Regions from separate parts of the Homo sapiens genome. Here region 2 is linked to region 1. Evidence: promoter capture Hi-C in human tissues and cell types (Jung and others, 2019). All regions are on one chromosome and are shown on one strand. Each heading gives the region's core, a stretch centred on a gene start or on the middle of the fragment in contact. The rest is flanking DNA. Distances are from core to core; before and after follow the strand shown.

Evidence for each region. The method cuts DNA at HindIII sites, captures the fragments that hold promoters and counts their contacts. A contact is called where the count stands out against the background at its distance.
Region 2: a contact is called between a fragment that was not itself captured here and the fragment with the promoter of GJA8 in region 1, in 2 of the 25 tissues and cell types used here (IMR-90 fibroblasts and aorta).

Annotation. Positions count from the first base shown.
Region 1 is chr1:147,900,015-147,906,855 of GRCh38, forward strand. GJA8 (gap junction protein alpha 8) reads left to right here and starts at 2,781. Exons shown (of 2, transcript NM_005267.5): 1 at 2,781-2,847. The HindIII fragment of the contact is 8,467 bases long and covers 1,590-6,841 here.
Region 2 is chr1:147,783,713-147,791,292 of GRCh38, forward strand. LOC102723321 (a long non-coding RNA gene) reads left to right here. Exons shown (of 3, transcript XR_922079.4): 3 at 4,896-5,978. Among named protein-coding and RNA genes, the nearest start is that of GJA5, 27 kb to the left of the region's middle. The HindIII fragment of the contact is 7,229 bases long and covers 1-5,284 here.

The sequences.
Region 1 (6,841 bases), core at 1,531-4,030:
CACCATTAGATTATCCAAAATGTCAATAATCTAATAATCTATAAGATTACAGAATATAAAATTGGAACTTACATTTGAATGTGGTTATGTCTCCTATTCTAGACATTTACTTATTTATCTCAAATAATGCAATACAGACACCCTGGGAAGACATCCCTCTGAAAGACCTGAGAAAGTGATTCTTGGTAGGAATAGACAAGTCATCTCTCAATGGTAGCTAAGGTGAGCCTCTTTCCCGATCTCTTTCAAAACTTTCCCCAAGATATACACGACTGAGTGTTTATATTTTCAAGGACTTCCCAGCTACAAACAGAAGAACCAATAACAAAGATAACTTAATCAATTGGGTACTACGAGTAGAGGAGTATCTTCTTTGTTAACAGCGTAAGAAAACAAAGAAAGTGCTAAATTGAAAAGCTAGATTTGTCTAAATCCGAGAGACTATAACTGGTTCAGAGCCTTGTTGACAGCCCCGTTTTTCTGGATTCAAATGCATCCTCTACTACCATCTCTCACAAAATGATGATGAGCGATGACACCACCCACTACATTAGCCAAGTTGGACTGGGAAGCCTTGGATAGGGAGAACTTCATTTTAAAGAGAAGCTTTGTAGATTCTTTTCTCTTCATAGGACTATATCAGGGAGAGCGCAAGCTTCAGGAATCAGCATGTACTGAATATTCCCAAAGAAAGAATGATTGGATTTTTTCCCCTCATCCTCTGACTTCTTACCTTATTGATATTGCAGGGATCAGCCTTGACCATCTATTTTTAACTGAAGGATTTGCTATAGGGCATTGTCCCAGTCAGTGTGGGCCCTCAAACTTGGGAGTTCAAAAGAAATCAGACATCTAAAGTAAACAAGGTTTTGGGCTAGTGACCATTTTATTTAAAATGGAATTGGGGACTCACACAACATTGGTACCATCCTCCTTCAAACTGCCCCCATCAAAATGCAATATGTCCATGACACCAGAAAGGACAGGAAGGGGGGGTGGGGTGGTGAAGCCAGTGCTTAGATTTTTTTTGTCTAGTTTGCCCTCCAAGTTGTCTTCAATTTAGTAATCATACATTGCAGATTTCATAAAACAATCTAAGTTTCAACTATTTTTGCTCCATTGTTTTCACGAATAAACTTGTAGGATAAAATGCCCCTATTTTTGGTTTGGAAATGTAGTCAAAATAACCATTTTTTATACTACCAATAGTCAGTCCCAGATGATGGGACGGGAGTGGGCCTCAGAGAGCATATGTCCATGCCCTCCAAGCATCATTCCTCATTAAGCCACATTAGAATTTAATCCAAGAGCCTCCTGGTGAGCAAAACCATCATATCCCCATTTAACAGATGAAGGCACTAAAGTCTAAAAATGTTAGCTGACATTGATTGAACTTCCGCTACTCAAAAGTATATGTAATTATAAGTGAAACGTGGTGAGAAAGGCTATTACTTTGACAAATGGCACCAGAATTCTTTGGAGTGTTAAGGCTCCTTTCAAAGAGGGAGACCACCCTGCTGAAGGTTTGTTTGTGTTTCTTTTTTATTGTTTTGATCTTTTTAGAAAGCTCTTTCCTTTTATGTTTAGTTGACACATAATAATTGTACGTATTTGTGATACACAGTGATATTTCAATACATGTATACAATGTGTAATGATCAAATCAGGATAATTAGCATATTCAGCATCTCAAACATTTATCATTTCTTTCTGTTGGGAACAATCAAAATCCTCTCCTCTAGCTTTTTGAGACTATACAATAAAATAGTTAACGGCCAGGCATGGTCGCTCATGCTTGTAATCCCAGCATTTGGGGAGGCCAAGGCGGGCAGATCGCCTGAGGTCAGGAGTCTGAGGCCAGCCTGGCCAACATGGTGAAACCCCGTCTCTACTAAAAATAGAAAAAAAAAAATTAGCTGGGCGTGGTTGTGGGTGTCTGTTATCCCAGCTACTCAGGAGGCTGAGGCAGGAGAATAACTTGAACCTGAGAGGCAGAGGTTGCAGTGAGCTAAGATCGTGACATTGCACTCCAGCCTGGGTGGCAGAGCGAGACTCTGTCTCACACACACACAAAAATATAAAAATTAAAATAATTAATTAATTAATGTTAACCATATTCACCCTACAGCACTGCAGACCACCAGAACCCATTCCCCCTATCTAGCTGTGCTTTTGTATCTATTAGCAACATGCTCCCCATCCTTCCTTCCGCCACTACACTTCCCAGCCTCTAATATCCACAATTCTGCTGAAGGCTTTGAGAGACAAGAGCAAACCACCAATAAAAAATGAAATATGGTCCTTTGGAAAGGACCAACCACTCTTGGTGTGACTCAGGGCAGAGGGATTCACACAACTGACCACTTACTGTCCCTACATCATTAAGATTCTCCCAGCTGATGATAAGGCCTTGGGAAAATGCCCCTAGGCTCATGCGCTCTGGAGAGACGCCAAAGGTTTACTGATGTACAGGCCCAGTCTGCTGCTAAAAGAAACTTTGGGAGGCACAGAAGCCCCAGCTAAGCTTTCACACATCAGCTTTCCCCATCCTCCTCCCCTCAGTGCCCAACACAGCTCTCCCATTCTCTCACTCCCATTGTTTCCCAAACATCCCTCCCTTCATAAAAGCTGTCTGGCTGGGAGCTTAAAATATTGCTGGACAGTAAAACCTACCCATCAGGGCCAATCCAGTCATATCTGCTCAGTCGTGCAGCACAGTAGGGGCGGGGTAGAGAAGTGGGAGGTGGGCTTTTAGGCAGCAAAGGAAAGAGACGAAAGTTGCCATTTTGCTGCTGAGCGCCAAGAGAGAAAGAGCACATATTTCTCCGTGGGACACTCCTTGTATTGGCAAGTTTTCCTTGGGTGATATTAGTTTGTAACCTTCCCCCCAATTGTTCTTTCTCAGCCTAATCTAAGGGCCATATATAGGCTTCTCCAAAAGGAAAAAGGTTGCCAATAAGATTCAGTCTTGGGCTGGGATGGCTAGACTTACACTCCAACTCTGAAAACCCTCTTCAAGTTGACCTAAGAACTGGCAGAGGTTTGGAAGGGAGAGGAATGCTGGAATAATCAGCAGGATGGGGAAACAGAGATGTCCAAACTCAAACTACAATTTGACTTCTTAAGCTCTTTTCATGTCTACAGGAATCCACAGGGACCTAAACCAAGTATTTGATATTTATGAAAAAGTTTTGTGCCCTTTTCACTCAAATTCTACAATAGAAATAATAGTCATAATTACTGAATGCTGTGGGGGTAGCGGAGGCTTCGTGCTCAGCATTTTCCATGTTGGAGCATTTAATGGAGCACAGGAAGGGATCTGGCTAAGGACCATAAAATTCCTCCTAGGAGCAGGTTCTGTTGTCTATCTATGAGAACTGCTGGCTAGTGGCTGTTCTAGAAACTAGAAAAGAGGCACTTTCCACCTGGTTACCAACCAGAGTGGTAAGTGGCCATTGAACGCTTTGGATAACTTATTAATGGATGTATATGTGTTATTCTGCCTCTTCAAAACCAGAGGAGGGCTATGCTGTAATGGGCTTAGATCTAGAAGACCAGGGCTCACAGCCTAGCTCTGCCCTCACTAGCTAAGCCCCCATCTTGGAGACTCATTTCACCTCCCAGCCTGTCTTTTTGTCTGGTAATGGGGATTGATAATGCCAAGTTCACTGGTTCTCAGACATCCATCTGGGGATCTGTCAGTTCTAGCTCAAGATGAAGGTTTCCACAACCTGTGACCAAAATGTGACAATGATAAAGTTAACAATGTAGTAAATGTTTCACCAAGTTAAGTGTGTTCAATTTAAAGGCTTGTCTTTTATTCTGAAGTTATGTCCTCTCCAGTTTTGTGGTGTTAAAATCCCCTTTTATGAAATGATGATGAAAATAGACTGTAGTTGTAGTTAGTAATTTAATAACTCTTTTTTTTTTTTTTTGAGACAGAGTCTCGCTGTGTTGCCCAGGCTGGAGTGCAGTGGTGTGATCTCAGCTCACTGCAGCCTCCACCTCCTGGGCTCAAGCAATTCTCCTGCCCCAGCCTCCCAAGTAGCTGGGATTACAGGTGCCCCACCACCGTGCCCAGCTAATTTTTGTATTTTTAGTAGAGATAGGGTTTCACCCTGTTGGCCAGGCTGATCTTGAACTCCTGACCTCAAGTGATCCTCCCACCTCGGCCTCCCATAGTGCTGGGATTACAGGCATGAGTCACCACGCCCAGCCAATAACTCTTATTTTTATGTCCTTGTTTGGCAAAATAAGGAGTTGGTATCCTTATGTTGGTCACACTAGTTTGTTATTATTATACTAGTCTGTGAAATCTAAGTCTGAGAACCACTGGCCTAGTTCACAGCTTGTTATGAGGACTGAAATAAGATACGTGAAAATGTATCACTTAGATCAAGGATACCCAAACATAAGGTGTTATTTTAATCATTACCTCTAGCCATCATTTTCTGGTGGGATGTTCCTGGCCATATATGGACACCCTGGGGTTGGAGGCTTGAACTCTATCCATTTATTTTCCATCTGTAATAGGTCTGTTCACTAAATTTTCACAAGCAAAATAAAACAGAGAATTATCTCTGAGAAAGAGAAGAGAAATAGTCTTCCTTTGGTTCAGATTTCTCCCTGCTCCCACAGAACGCTTTGCTTCTCTGATCTGACTTCCTTTAAATTTTCACTGTTAGAAGTCAGGAAACCAATACATTTCCCTTCGCAGCTCTAAAGTGTCTCTCCTTAACAGCACAGTAGGCCTGTTTCAACATCATGGGGTTGGAAAGATTGTGTCCTAAATTACAGTTTCTCTCCTTCAGTTATCACAAGAAACTGTAACTAGACATTTAAAAAAAAATACAATCTTAGCATGGCGGCTTAGAGTATAGAAAGACATGGGCTTGTTTGGCTTTGGTTTCAAAATTACTAATGAGTGGTCAGGAACGACTTCTTGTGTCATGAACATGTATCATGACACTCTTGTCAAGAATTGTTGGCCTTCCAGTTTATATATTTGATCTCATACAAAATAAGCAGTTTTGTGTCTCAGAGCAGCTGGTTGGGGATCAATTTACTATCCTTTTTGTTATTTACCATTTTTTACAAGTTCTTAATTTTTCTGCTGTTAGCTGTAGCAAGAGGACTGAAGTTCCTTGGTCTCTAGTATTCATATTACAGGAATTTGGGGATTGAGAATTTCAGATTTCACAAGGATTACTATTAGAACCATGCACTGCTGTCTATGGAGCTCCCACTCTGTGAAGGGCTTTGTTCTGTGTTGTGATGGTTCACAAAAGATGAGGCCAAAATGGTTCCTGCCCTCCAAAACCTTTTGATACTAAAGGGGGGAAAACAAGATTGGTTAACATACAGGACTGAGAGCATGTGCTCATCACACACATTCATGTGGGTATGTGAGTGAAATACACTGTCAAAAATGAACTGATATATCAATGAGGGTAAGTATTAGCAAGATAGTTAAGATTCAGTAAGATATTAGTAAGATAGTAAGATATTAGCTAAATCTTATAGAAGTACAGTTATTCAAATTGCTGTTTTAACATAAATTTTAGAATGAACTATTTGATAAGAAATGAACTTTTTCCTGGCTCTGCCACCAGTGAGCTTTATGCTTGGGCTGCTTACCTGATTGTGATGTTTCCCACCTATTTTCCAAAAGGCAATGGGAATGGCTACCACTCTTACCAGGGCAATTACTAGACTTAACTATAGTCTGAAGAGTTAAAAATAGATACATGTGGCTGGGATTGAGTTGCTGGTTCCGATTCCGAGCTGCTGGGTCCTTCCCCCTCTCCATTACCCATTTCTCCAAGGAACTCTTCCCAATGCCAGACCCATGACTGGGGATGCCACAGCTGCTGTCACTTTTTCAGGAGAAGAGAAGCTGCTGCAGGATGCCCTGCCTGATTGGGAGCTTATGAGGCCTCAAGAGGAGGAGCACTCTCTGCTCTCCCACAAGAAGCGAACAGCTATTGTGCCTGCCCTGACAGCACAGGCTGGACATTGCAGATGCCTGCAATTAGTATCCTGCCACCAGGTTCTGTCTGGCCAGACTCCAAATCACAGGTTGGAAATAGGCTTTTGTGTTTAACAAATATCACTGTGATTAAAAAACAATAGGCATATCCCTTTAGCCCCATAGGTTCCTAGGCCTATAGCATGGGGCATGGCTAGAAGAAGCCCAGAGCAAGATCCTCTAACATGGGCTCTTGCCCTGGTCTGAGGGCAGTGATGAGTAAACTTATAACTCTAGAGATGTTCAAGCTGCAGGAACAACTGTTCTCCATTGAGGTGGAAGTTTTGCTCATCATTCTTTATAGGTTACAGGTTTGCACTGGATGAATGACCCAGTTGCAGCCAGCCCCTTGTCAGCTCAATGCCATTTCCATTAGCCATTGCTGTGCTACAGGCATTATATACTATCATGTTTAACGATATTTTTTCTATAGACCAAATTTTTGACTCTATTAAAACAGCCATATGTTACAGACCCTGAAACATTTTCATTCCATAGGACACTAAAAGTGTCCTAGAAGACCTTCCTCATCCTGTGACATGATTCCTTCCCAAAGCATTCTCTCTGTTCTTTGGATTTAAAAGAGTAATAATAAAAATATACGGCCCTCAATGTGTAAAGCTATTAATAAGGGTTTCCAGATTTCAACCTAGAGAAGAGGAAACATAAATTAAGAGCACAGAAGTCAAAGAATTGTGTAGCTTTGATTGCAGGCAGTTTATCTCAATGGTGTAGTGGGAAGAACCCAGCCTTTGTGATCAAGCAAACAGAACTGCTGCTATTTAGCTGTCTAATCTTGGACAATATATTTAG
Region 2 (7,580 bases), core at 420-2,919, 120 kb before region 1:
CATTTTTGTACTTATAAATGTTTTTAAAAAATTGGAATTGTATTATGAACACTTTTTGGTAATCTGCTTTTTTTCACTTAACGATGTGTCAGAGACGTTTTCTATGTCAATAGAAATACATCTTCTTCACCTTTTTAATGATTATCAGGAGTGTAGTCAAAGAGAATGGCACCCAAAGGCAATGTAATGTGTTTGTATCTTTTCTTTCCATAAGGATGTTACCACTGCACTAGAATTATCAAGGACTAGTATCTGTGCAGTACTCTTTAGACTAATGTCAGGGTATATATATCACCTCCACCCTTTGCTAAGTACCTGGGTTACACAGTTTCCTGCTCTTGGATTTACCAAAATTCATTTAATGCCCTATTATTGAGCACTTCAATTTTGGGTGAATATAAATATCACCATATTGAATGTAAGTGGTGCCCTTTTAATTTCTAAGACAAAGCAACTTGCTGTTAACCCATTTCTTTCTCTGCCCCAAATAAGTTACTCCATGTAATTCTGAGCTGTCCTTTCAAAGCCTTGCAAACAGCTCATGGGAAAAAGCAGAATTTCTGAACAAAACAATTCAAAACAAAACAAAAAATACTAGCTTCCTCCATTCAACCAACCCCTTCTCTACCATACACATAAGACGCAAAAGGAAGTGTGCTGAGCGAGTGGTGAAACACTAGGGCAGATAAGAATAATCTTGACAGGTTCGGAGAAAACCCCTCATGAATCTTGGGAGAAGATTTCTATGGGTAAATGGGGTAAAGGTTCAAATCCTGAAGGGCTAAACCAAACTTTGCAAAAGCTCACCACCACCACAAGCCTGTTACCCCAGAACAGCCAGCTGTGCCTCATGCCTCCAATCCTGCTCTGGTTTCTGTGAATTCACACACAACCCTGGGATTGAAGTACCAGCTCTGCCTGTGGTGGGAAGGACGTGTGTAACTGACAAAAGCTGATGAGGCAGAGAGGGACCAGGGAAATGCAGGAATCAGGTCTCAGGTCCTATCTCTAACACTTAAAGAATTGAGTGCCCTTGGGTTAAGCTACATCAACTGTGCCTTCTACTTTTAAATTTTAATATCTCTATGATTCTAAGTAATTGGTTATCTCCATACCAAGCCAAAGCTTGGAAGAAGTTGAAATTTGTCTTAAGTGCCCAACTGTATTTACACTTGTAGCTCCTCCCTTTCTTTACCTATACAGCACTCTGGGGAGCATGAGAGATATTCTTAGGCCATTTTTTATTCCAGATGGTGCTGCGGTATTGAAAACTTAAGGGTATTCCAAATAAGGAAAATACAAATGAGCAACACTTGGAGGTGTGTTTCAATTAGGATGCTACCAGCCATCAGTAACAGAAACCCCAGCTGGAGTCAAACACACTGACCACTACACTGTGGGAATGCACAGAGGGTGTCAAAGTTAATGGATGGCCCACTTACAGCTGATCCATTTATTTATTCATTTATTCATGTATCCACTGATTTTAAAAACCCACTGAGTTTGGGACTGTGCTAGGAACTAGATATACTAGTGATTCAGACATGGCATCTGAATTAAGAAATCAAAACCTAGGGGTTTTATAAATATCAATGCTCCCTGACCCCTCTGAGAGCTGAGTGATGTCACCAACTTAGAATCCCACAAGACTAGCTGGAGACCTAGTTGGAATAAAAATGCTGCCTTGTTTTAGACCATCAAGTCTATGATAATACTGCGATTTCCAGGAATCTATCTGGATTGAGGGAGCTAGGCAATGCATGCTGACATGGCCTGTAAAAGGGATTGAGGTGGAGCTCTGATCGCAGGAGAGTATAGAATGGAAACCAGAAACTAGGAACCATGGACATCTGCATCTATTCACCCTCCATACAAGGGGGTGTAGGGAGTTCCCATTTACCTCCAGGTCTGGTTTATGAACTGTGGGCCTGCAAGCAGCCTAAACATGATTGTTGATGCTCCAGTGGACCTGAATAGGCAGGGACCATGACAGGTGGCTGCAAACAGATAATAGAGAGCTAACAGAGAATGCCAGGCAGTGGTCTAAGTGCTTAGCAGAGTTTGCTCATTTAACCCTTACAAAACTCTTGGAGATAAGAATTAGTATCCATATTTAACATAGGTAAAAAATCAAGAACAGAAACCTTATCCAAGCTGGTCAGTGGTAGATCTGGGATTTGAATCCAGGCAGTCTAGTTTCAACATCTGTGCACTTAACCACAAAATAAATTATATGACTATGTGAGAAGTGCTACAATAGAGCTACGATCAGAATGCTGTGGGAACTGAGAAAGGAATGAAAGTGCCAGGAAAGGCTCCGCATAGGAGACGACATTTGTGATATGTCTTGCAAAATAAGTAGAAGTTTCAGACAGAGAACTGGAAGTGGGAGAAGTACATCCCAGGCACCATGGGACAGATGGGCAATGGCATTTTGGAAGACTACAGAGTAGTTCTTTTGCAGGAGAGGTGAGCCCCAAATCTGGGGCCTTAGCTCAGGAAGGTTTTTGGTTTTGCTCCAGAAAGAATTCAAGAGTGAGCCAGTGGTAGAAGAAAATAGCTTTATGGAGGTGGCAGTGTTACAGCTCTGTGACGGCTCCTGCAGAACGGGGCTACCCCACAGGCAGTGCGCTGACAGCAGGAGCTCAGGGCAGTTCTACAGTCATATTTACACTCACTTTTAATTACATACAAATTAAGGGGCAGGTTATTTAAGAGATTTTTAGAAAGGGGGTGAAACTTCTGGGTCATTGCCATGGAAAGAGGCAGTAACTTCTGGGTATCGCCATGGCAATGGTAAACTATTAAGGCACTGGTGGACATGTCTTATGGAGCAGTGCTTCCCGTGCCTCTTCCCTGTTTTAGCCAGTCTTTGATCTGGTCCAGAGTCAAGTTCTGCCTAACTCAATTCTACACAGCTGGACCAAAAAGGATGGGGGAGTTTGGTTTCCAAAGAATCCTGAGTTTGGGGCCAGATTGTTAAGAACTTTGTAAACCACATTAATTTGTTCTGCAGGCAGCAGGGAGCCAAGTAAGGGGATGAGTCTGAATCCTCCTACGGTTTTCAGGGATTTCCAGGATGGTTCCTCAGTATGCGTGTCCTGGATCACACCCAGTGCTAAGTAAAATCATTTCTCTGGCCACTTGTTTCTTGCTTTTAGTCTCTTCAGCATTGCAGGTAGAGCCCAGGGCTGGGTAACTTTACTCCTACTGACTTGGAAAGTGAAGGATGCATAGTTGCTCAAAGGCAGAGCATGGCAGGGCACTCTACCAGTGTTCCACCTCAGAATCTTGGACCATTCTTTCACCTGGGAGCCCTGAATTCAAGAAAATCCAAATGGAGACCAGCAAAAAAAGGGAATGCTGTTTTATGGAGATTTTTAAACCAAGGCTGAGGGGCCATTTTCAAGGGATGCTGACTCAGTAAACGTTCTTTGGCAGCAAGCATCAGAAAACAACTGTAACTACTTTAAGCTGAAAAAGAAAAGGAAGAGAAAGAAGTGAAGAGAGGGATGAGGAGGACAGGAACAAAAAGGGGAAGAAAGGTGAAGAGATTTCCTTAAAGTCTCTGCAAGAATCTGTTAAGAATAAGCCCCCAGTTAGAAGCTCCCTTGGGCTTCAAAAACATTAGAATGAATAGATATAACTTGACTCTCCCTAAGACATGATTCTTCCGATTTATCAGTCTATTATCTTTCTCTCCAGGACACACCTGCAGCCTTACAAAACAATGAGTCTTTCATTAAGCTGTGGCTCTTCATCCAAAAGTTCCCCTACTTATAAGCAGAAAGTCTATAAGTCCAAGGGCTCTCAGGGCACCTGCTTTTAAGTGTCTGTGGTGACCATTGAGAAGGGGGCCACTGGAGGCCCTGCGGCCTCAAGGGCAAACCGATATAGTCACAGGAATAATCAAACAGCAGCAGAAGGCTTCAGAACAAGCACATCACAAAAAACACTGAACTCAACTCCAATGGAAGTTGCGTCACTTGGTGGCTGTGTGATTCTGGGCAAGTCCCTTAATGTCTCCAAGCCTTAATGTTCTCATGTATAAAAAGGGTGCCCCTTTTTGTAAAAAGGCTTTCTGACTGTGACAAATTCATTAAAATATTGTGATGAACAAATGTGTTCCAAGCTGCAATGTGCCAGGCAAGTGATGTTATTATCAACTAGACTCTTGCTCTCCATGCAGTGAAGCCTCTTCCTATGAGTGGAAATTATTCAGCCTTGTCACTGGCATGTCAACAACCAGACACAGCTTAGCACAGAGTCATGCCATAGGTCTGGGGCAGGACAAGCCAAGTGCAGGAAATGTGTCTGGTCAGCTTCTGCACAACCCTGGATGGAACGGGCCAGGGGAAGGGGAAATGGTTTGCCCCCTGCATTCTGCCCGTATGCCTTCCTGTGCCATCCTCCAGACCCCAGGCTCTACCCTCAGGCCTGGGCAGTGGGATAGGCTCCAAGAGTCTGGAGTGTCTAGGGCTGGGTGAGTTGGGTAAACTTTAACACAAAGCCTTATAAAATGCTTGTTTGTATTTCACTTTTAGTAAACTAAAGAGGCAGGAAAGTTGAAGACAGGTTTGGATCTTTCCAAGAAGGGCTTGGCCTCACAGGGAAGAGGTCTCCAGATGGGTCAGGGGGAAGCAGGGCATATCGAGCCTGGGGGAAAGAGGGATATGAATATGGCATCTCGGTTTTCAAAAAGTTGGCATGAAAAGGAAGATTTGACTTATTCTGGGCAGCTCAGAAGGATGGAACTGGGATCTGAGTGAGGACGGGGAGGAAGAGGGCTCACATTAACTTACTCTTATCAGGCACTGTTCTTTACAAATGTTATGACATGTAATCCTCACAACAATACCATGAAGTGGTTACTATTATTATCCTCTGTTTTACAGATGAGGAAACCAAGGCACAGAGGTTAAACAACGTGTCCAAGCCACGTAGCAAGTAAACAATTGAGCCAGGCTCCAAATCCAAACGTTCTGGCGTCAGAGTCCTATAAAGATTTTTTTGGCCTAATGTGAGGAAGTACTTTCTAAGAATAAGAGTTTACCAATTAAAAGGGGGTTGCTGTTTTATGAAGATATTTAAACCAAGGCTGAGGGGCCATTTTCAAGGGATGCTGACTCGGTAAAAGTTCTTTGGCAGCAAGCATCAGAAACCAAATGTAACAACTTTAAGCTAAAAAATAAAAAGAAGGAAGAGGAAGAAGAGAAGATGGGGTTGAGGGAGGAGGACAGGAAAAAAAAGGAGAAGAAAGGTGAAGAGGAAAGTGAGGAGGAGGAAGAGGCAAAAAAAGGGGCATTTGTTGGAAGTGGGGTGCAGAAAAAATAAACAGCTGAAGATTCAAATTCAAGAAGGACCAGAAACAAGGACTGCCCTAGGATCCAGGGAGCAGGAACTGATTAACCGTTTCTTTAGGGCACAATTACCCAAATAAATCAGCTCTAATGGATTTCTGTCTTTTTGCCATTCTGCTTAAGATTCAAGTTCCAGGGAAAGAACATTCCCTTGGCCTAGCCTTGGGAAAGATCGACAATAAAAATCGCTAATATTTATGGTGTTTATTCTCTACCAGCCACTGTTCTAAGCACCACATCTGCATGTATTTTCTTCTCACAGACACCCTATGAGATAGCTACTATTATAGCTAAGAAACTGAGACAGAGAATGTTAGCTGTCATTCAACGTGAGGCAGTGTGGTTGCCACCATGTTTGCTCTAATATCAAAATGGAAAGGATAGGCTCCCTAAGACAAAATGTTGATGTTGATGAAGAAGGGGAATGGATGCTAAGAGATAAAACCCACAGATGCTCTCTCAGGGCTTGGTCTTGCTAGAAGGGAAAGAGAGGACTCCCGAGGTGTCTTCTGACCCAGGAATTCTACATTCTAGTTTCCATCCTAACCCTCTTGGTTATTGCAAGGAGAAGATGAAACAAAGCAAGGAGGCCGGGTGTGGTGGCTCACACCTATAATCCCAGTACTTTGGGAGGCTGAGGCAGGCAGATTGCTTGAGTCCAGGAGTTCGAGATTAGCCTGGGCAACATGGTGAAACCCCACCTCTACCAAAAGTAAAATTAAAAAAAAATAGCTGAGCATGGTGGCATGTGCCTGTGGTCCCAGCTACTCAGGAGGCTAAGGTGAGAGGATTGCTTGAGCCCCGGAGGTGGAGGTTGCAGTGAACCGAGATTGCACTAATGCACTCCAGCCTGGGCAAGAGTGAGACCCTGTCTCAAAAAGAAAAAAAGCAAGGAGCAAAAAGACAACAGAAAAGATATAACAAAGGACTGAGTGCAACAGAAACATAGGAGAACAAATAGTTCCTGAACAGGATACAACCAAATGACAAAATTCTGAGAGAAAAAAAAATGCCTATCAAAGTATAACTTGAAAGACAACAAAGAAAAGATTCCAAGTCCTATAAAAGTTTGAGAATGAAATAAAATGAAGAAAAGCAGAGAGGCCAATTTCTCACAAATAGTGAAAACCTGATGTGAAACTCTACTACAAGAGGTTGCACTCCATCATGATTCACAATGAAAGTTTGGAGTCAGGCTGCCAGAATTAAATCCTGCCTCCAGCACCTCCAGCTGTGTCACTTTGAAAGCATTACATGACCTGTCTGTGCCTCGGTCTCGTCTGTAAGATTTTAATAATGCCTAATTATTAAATTAACAATTTAATAGTTATTAATAATTGTTAGTAGTGTCAGAGGAGTGTTGAAAGGGTAAAGTCTTAAGCACAGTGCCTGGCACATAGCAAGTGCTTACTAAACGTTAGCCACGCGGCCACTGTATGTGAGCTCCTACAAGCCCAACATGGTCTTGGGACAGGCCGACAGGTTGAGTGCCTGGAAGAAACCCCTCTTGGGGAATCATAAGCAGAGACCCCCGAAAAGCAGAGACCTGGTTTCTGCATGGGAGGTCAGGAAAGCGGCACCACCAACAGATGCGGGTCCTTAGCAGAGAGATGAGCAGGTGAGGAGAGGAAAAGCCTCCCAGGAGTTGAGAGTCTGGATAGTGGAATGCCAGAAATGAAGCTCTGGAAAAACATTCTACTTAAAATATAATTGTAAGAACTCCTCTTTGTAGGGCTCTCGGAGAAACCCTCTGAAATCTCCAAGGAGTTGGAGAACCGGACCCTGGGTTTGCAATCAAGAGCTCTGTGTTCTGGCTTCTGCTGATGCTAGTAGGCTCTGGGTCCTTTCAGGGTCTCAACTTCCTTGTCTGAAAAAGTGGGCATAATGGTATCTACCTCAAATGATTGAAGTGAAGATTAAATGAGGAATGTCTGTAAAACACCTGGAACATAGGGGCTACTGAATAAATGATAACTTTCCTTACACTCTCACTCACTGTTACAAAACAACAATGCATAGAACAGGGTGTCCCTGGAGCCAGAAGAATAAAGTAAGTGCATGCTTGTTGAATTCATCAACTTCCAGAATGCCCCATGTGTTCTAGTGAATCCATATCTGATATAGTTTGGATGTTTGGCCCCTCTAAATCTCATGTTGAAATGTAATTCCTAATGTCAGAGGTGGGGCCTGGTTGGGAGGTGTTTAAATCATGGGGTTGAA